Linked DNA regions of Homo sapiens: region 1 is linked to region 2. The links are contacts of gene promoters, found by promoter capture Hi-C in blood cells and fetal thymus (Javierre and others, 2016). All regions are on one chromosome and are shown on one strand. The core of a region is centred on a gene start or on the middle of the fragment in contact, and the rest is flanking DNA. Distances in the headings are between cores, read along the strand shown.

Region 1 (3,001 bases), core at 18-2,517, 1.5 Mb after region 2:
CTAATAAAAATACAAAAATTAGTCCGGCGTGGTGGCACGCGCCTGTAATCCCACGTACTCAGGAGGCTGAGGCATGAGAATCTTTTGAACGTGGGAGGTGAACGTTGCAGTGAACCGAGATCGTGCCACTGCACTACAGCCTGGGTGACAGAGACTGTCTCAAACACAACACAACACACTCTTCTTGAGGCTTTTTCTACAACTCTAGAAGGATTTGCAAGGCTAACAAACAATGGGCTAAATGACACTCAACGGGCCCTTAAAGTGTTGAAAAAAGCATATATGGCTTTTTTTTTTTCAAATCCATTTACATAACTCAGCAGCAAAGAGTTGAACAAACACTTAACCTAACTTCAACTTTCTCATCTGAAACTCTTGAAGTCAAAAGTGTTTTGGAAAATTCTTTAAATTTTAGAAAGACAACATGGCGCTCATACCTGACACACAGCTGACACCTTATAATACCTGTGAGGTCTGGGCAGCACCCTGTAATCAAGCATTAATATTTCTGCATCAAAAAGTATGAACTAAGACTATAAACAGCCTCACATCAGTTCAGGTAAAGATCTACTACCAAATGAATCTGTTGCAAATTTAAGGGGAAAAAAAAAATCTTGCTTTATAGAGCTTTTTGAGTTCGGAATTAGTAAGTGGATCTGTTAGTACCTACCATGTAGAACTGGCAGAATTAAATGAGAAAGGTGAGCACATGGCACGGTCTATAAAAGCCTGTGTGTAGTCTTCACTGCCTCAACTCCCACCAGCTTCTTCTGGTCCTTTGGAAATCAACCACTAATTCTCATGCGTGAAGCTTTCTCAGAACTAAAGGAGTAGGCCCTTAATCCTGCCCTCGGGCTAGTAATTCCATAGTAGGTTCTTGTCATTGATGGGAACATGTTCAATCTCTTAGGAATTGATGAGATTCCACAGGAGCGGAAAAAAGGCTTAGAATCACAAGAATATATATATAATAGCTGCAGAAATGTTTCAAGCTTCTTTATATCAAGTATAAATTATCAAGTATTCTTTAGGACTCAGAACTACCTTTAAAAAGGCTAATGCATAAGCCAGACATTAATTTATTAATATACAACAGGAACTGTTCCTGCCCAGTGACAAGAATATTCACATCCTCTATTAGGACACAGCTGCCCCACAAAGGGCATGTGAAAGGCCGATTCATGAATGAGAGTCTCTGGTAGACATGGGATCAGAGGAGTCTGATGGGAGGCAGTGGTATAGTAGCTAAGAGCACAGGCTTTGGAGTCAGAACCTGGTTTGAGGTCTTGCTTTGCTGTTTAGAACTGGGTAACCTACAGCAAGCACATTTTTCTAATGTGAGTTCTCCTCATCAACTACTTCATAAGGCTGTAAAGATAAATATGTGTGTGGGAGAGACTGGACTATGTCACCCCAAAGCATGCGTCTTTGGCATAAAAAGGTTCCTGCCTCCTCCCTCTCTACCAGGGAGAACAAAGGTTAACCACTAACAACTTTAGACCTTTATGGGCCAGAAGACAGCACCAGAGGAATCCACACTAACAAGCTTTGCTAACGGGCCTTTATCACCACTTACTTGCCTTCCCACAAGTTCTGCCCCTAGACAAAGTTCTTCCCCTTTGTCTTGTCACTTCTCTAAAAAATTACCATTCTTTGTTGAAGATACTACATAAGCTGGAATTCAAAGCCACCTCTGAGAATGACTCATCCCCTGGGTATCTCCCACACATATAAATGAAATAGATATGTTAGTAAGCTTGTTTTTCTCTTGTTAATCTGTCTTTTGTTGCAGGGGTCCTTTCCAACTAAGCACTCATGAAGGTTGAGGAAAAAAATATTTTTCCTCCCTGACATATACAAATATATAATTTACAAAAACGTTAATATATGTAGAGAGCTCAGCATGAGATCTGGCAGATGGTAAATTGCTCAATAAGGAGAAGCTACTGTCATCTTTATTTAAAGCTACAGTTTTCAAACTTTACATGTGCTAAGATTCACCTGGAAGAAGATTTATTAAAGTGTAAGAACCTGGGTCCCTTCCCCTCAAACGGCTGAGACTGGAGTAGAGCCAGGATTCTGCATTTTTAGCAACAAACCCAGGTGATATTAGTACAGGCAGTCCAGAGATCACACTTAGAGAAATGTTGATCTTGGACATGGAAAATCCTGGACGTCCCCTGCCCTGACCAATGTCCTTTTCTCTTGGGTCTAGGAGACACAGGCATTCACTGGATCAATGATGACTCTTCAGCTTAATGCTCACCGTCTCCCTGCATAGGGCTCAGCTTAGATGCAGTTATCCACTAAGATTAGGTTATATTTTAACTGTACCACAGCAGCATTCATCATCATAACGCTTCACTTTGGTATGTTCTTAACAATCATTAATTCCCTGAAATTACAAACTAGTTACCTTAACCTTGCTTGAGTGATCCTTCCTAACTTCTCAGTCCAAACAAATACTGAATTTCTACAGATGGCTAATCTTATCCACTGCATTTTAAAACTTTCTATTGTGGACCAGGTGTGGTGGCTCATGCCTGTAATCCCAGCACTTTGGGAGGCCAAGGCGGGTGGATCACTTGAGGACAGGAGTTCGAGACCAGCCTGGCCAACATGGTGAAACTCCATCTCTACTTAAAAAAAAAAAAAAAAAATTAGTTAGGCATGGTGGCACACGCCTGTAGTCCCAGCTACTTGGGAGGCTGAGGCATGAGAATCACTTGAACCCAGGAGGCAAAGGTTGCAGTGAGATAAGATCACACCATTGCACTCCAGCCTGGGCGACAGAGTGAGACTATGTCTAAAAATAAATAAATAAATAAAACTTTCTATTGTGGATAATCTCAAACATATATACATGCAGAGAAATGGTTTAATGAACTCCCACGTACCCATCAACCAGTTTCAACAATTATCAACATACAGCCAATCTTATTTCATCTCTACTCTCCTACTTTCCTCGTCCTCCAATCATTTTAAAGCTAATCCAAGGCAT
Region 2 (3,170 bases), core at 661-3,160:
AGGCTAAGGTGGGAGGATTGCTTGAGCCCGGGAGGTGGAGACTGCAGTGAGCCGAGATCATGCCACTGCACTCCAGCATGGGCAACAGAGCGAGACCCTGTCTCAAAAAAATAAATAAATAAAATAAAATAAGAAAAAAAGAGAAGAGCTTACTGAGGTCTTAAGTGCAAGTAAAACAAACTACTTGGTATTAGCAGGTAGAGTTTTAACTAGGCAGACACCTCCTGTAGTTTTCTGTGTTTGCTAAGAGTGGGAAGTGCCAGGATTTGGGAATAATAAATATCATTTATTGACTGCTTACTACATAGCAGGTACTAAAATTAAACTAAGATGATGGCCTCCTTTAATCCTCAACAAGTGTAGTAGCTAGAAACTTTTCCTACCTATATTTTATGGATGAGAAAACTGATTCTTAATTTGCCAAAGAACATAGCTTTGGTATGTGAACCCAAGACTGTCCAATTCTGAAGCTCATGCTATTTGCTATTATATTACATCTTTCTAGTAATCAGAAATATGCACAGCGCATCCAGGAATCAGGGAGGACACAATAATTCATATTGTGAATTAAAAGGATCACTAGGCCAGGCACCGTGGCTCACACCTGTAACCCCAGCACTTTGGGAGGTTGAGGCGGGTGGATCACCTGAGGTCGGGAGTTCGAGAACAGTCTGACCAACATAGAGAAACCCCATTTCTACTAAAAATACAAAATTAGCTGGGTGTGGTGGTGCATGCCTGTAATCCCAGCTACTTGGGAGGCTGAGGCAGGAGAATGACTTGAACCCGGGAGGCAGAGGTTATGGTAAGCCGAGATCGCACCACTGCACTCTAGCCTAGGCAACAAAACTCCGTCTCAAAAAAAAAAAAAAAGATCACTAGAAAATGGGTTTGTAAAAAGTAGAGGTTCCTCTTCAAAGACTTCCTTCCCCGTCTAATTAGGAATAAATAGTAACTTCTCTTAGAGCAAAATTTATTCAAAGACCTGTGCTAACATTCTTAAATATCTGCTAGATATAATAAAGAAATCAATGTACTTTATGTTCTTAGCTCCCACAATTTAGCCTAAATATTTGCCCTGGCATGCTTATACTGGTCCAATCAAACATTAGGTCATAGCCTGTTCCTCTTCCTTACTTAAAAGTGTTTTTACCTTTCTCAGCATTCCACAAGTTACTTCCTTCTTCCTTTGTTCTCCTCTGCCTTTGCCTCTTTTAAAAAGTTCTATGTTGCTAGTCAGTCGGGACAAATACAGAATGTGAGGTCCCGTTCCAGCCAAAGGAAACCGGACACAGCAGTAGGGTGGACGCGCCACGTTATAAATGACCCTGTCTCCTTTGTTCAGTGTACTCTCCTGGCAAAACTGCTGGCGAGTGTACCCTTTCTGCAGGAAGTAAAAATGGCCTTACTAAATAAATTAAATTTAAGTTTAAGTTCTATTTCTTTACAGCACCGAGGAACGAGCATTTCGAACAGGTTGAACACCTTGACAGATTCAGTGTGTGGCCTGCCTGAGACCTCCAACCAGTCTGCAGGGCACTGTCACGTCCAGTCGTTTCCCAAGGCCTAAAATAGGCAGGCACTGGCTCAAGGCCACACAGTCAAGGCCCCAGGGTTCGTCCGCCTCGGGCTCCTGTCACCCTCGGGTAGAAGGTGGCCCAAGGCTGAAGACCGAGGTCCAGGGAGGCGCCTTTCCAACCGTGCCAGAGAGGGCAGGTCGCAGACGCCGGGGCTGCGGGGAATAGAGGCCCTCACCGCAGATGCCACCTGCCGTGCCCTGCTCTGCGGCCAACGCCAGCGCTGGACCCGGAGCTACCCGCCCCCGACCCGGAACTCCCTCGAGTACCGCGCGAGCCGCTTGGTCGCCATTCCCGACACTCCTTGCTTTTCCAAGTCCAGCTGCCGGAAGTCGCTCGACTTCTACTTCCGGTCCGTTCAAAAAGCCCGCGAGGCTGAGGGGCGGTTGTTGTTGGCAGCTGTGGCTAAGGAGGGGAGAACCTCTGCTCCCCGCCCGTCTTCTCTTCTGCGTTTCCCGGGCTAGGGGGCGTGGGGAGTGGTTTTAGGCGGCGAAGCCGCTCGGCAGCACCTTCCTTCTTTGCCAGGCAGACGCCCGTTGTAGCCGTTGGGGAACCGTTGAGAATCCGGTAACCGATGCGGACGGTAAAGCCGTTTGGGTTAGAGCGGCGCGGGTGTCCAGTCCGCGGAACGGGGAGATCGTTGGCACCTTCGCTTTTTTAGGGGAACGGGGATAGTTCGGTAAACTGAATTGAGAAGCGGATCCGAGGGAGGTTGAAAGCTGTCAAGCCCGTGTAGCTCTCCCGCTAGGAGGCGGCACGCGGGGGAATAGGGGCGCTGGAGTTTCCCCAGCTCTACCTCATCTTTCTCCACAGCCATGGAGCCAGAGAGGGAAGGGACCGAGAGACACCCCAGGAAGGTCAGGGAAAGCAGGCAGGCCCCAAATAAGCTGGTCGGGGCAGCTGAGGCGATGAAAGCCGGTTGGGATCTCGAGGAGAGTCAGCCCGAGGCCAAGGTGAGCAACGGGGATCCCGAGCAGGCGGCCCTAGGCGGTTTGGAGCTCCCGGACCCTCGCCCAACCGCCGTCGGGGGCACTGGATTCGGGCGGGCTCTCCGCCCTGGCCTCTCCGAACCTGATCCCTGATCATTAAAATGGGAATGAGTGTAATACCACCTTCCTGCAACAAGGCTGTCATTGGCTGTCACTGGGATAGTGAGTCGGCCGAGTGCGGTGGCTCATGCCTGTAATTCCAGCACTTTGGGAGGCCGAGGCGGGCGGATCACGAGGTCAGGAGTTCGAGACCAGCCTTGTCAACATGGAGAAATCCCCGTCTCTACCAAAAACACACACACAAAATTAGCCAGGCGTGGTAGTGGGTGACTGTAATCCCACCTACTTGGGAGGCTGAGGCAGGAGAATCGCTAGAACCCAGGAACCAGAGGTTGCAATGAGCCAAGACCACGCCATTACACTCCACCCTGGACAACAAGAAAGAAATCACGTCTCAGAAAAAAAAAAAAAAAAAAAAAAACTGGGATGGTGGGCCGGGTGCAGTGGCTCACGCCTGTAATCCCAGCAGTTTGGGAGGCCAAGGCGGGAGCATCATTTGAGGCCAGGAATTCAAGACCAGCCTGGGCAATATAGCAAGGACCCC

The links. Contacts are between HindIII fragments. The CHiCAGO score rates a contact against its expected background, and 5 or more counts as called.
Region 1: a fragment that was not itself captured here is called in contact with the fragment with the promoter of ERI2 in region 2 in 1 of 17 cell types (erythroblasts); the score reaches 5.3 in erythroblasts.

The regions. Positions count from the first base shown.
Region 1 is chr16:22,352,085-22,355,085 of GRCh38, forward strand. All of the region lies in intron 2 of CDR2 (cerebellar degeneration related protein 2), which reads right to left. Among named protein-coding and RNA genes, the nearest start is that of CDR2, 21 kb to the right of the region's middle. The HindIII fragment of the contact is 554 bases long and covers 991-1,544 here.
Region 2 is chr16:20,804,562-20,807,731 of GRCh38, forward strand. It overlaps ERI2 (ERI1 exoribonuclease family member 2), which reads right to left and starts at 1,911. Exons shown (of 9, transcript NM_001142725.2): 1 at 1,847-1,911. The coding sequence starts at 1,869. It overlaps REXO5 (RNA exonuclease 5), which reads left to right and starts at 1,966. Exons shown (of 20, transcript NM_030941.3): 1 at 1,966-2,144; 2 at 2,391-2,530. The coding sequence starts at 2,393. RefSeq lists enhancers at 1,107-2,052, 1,801-1,910, 2,631-2,770. The HindIII fragment of the contact is 22,874 bases long and covers 1-3,170 here.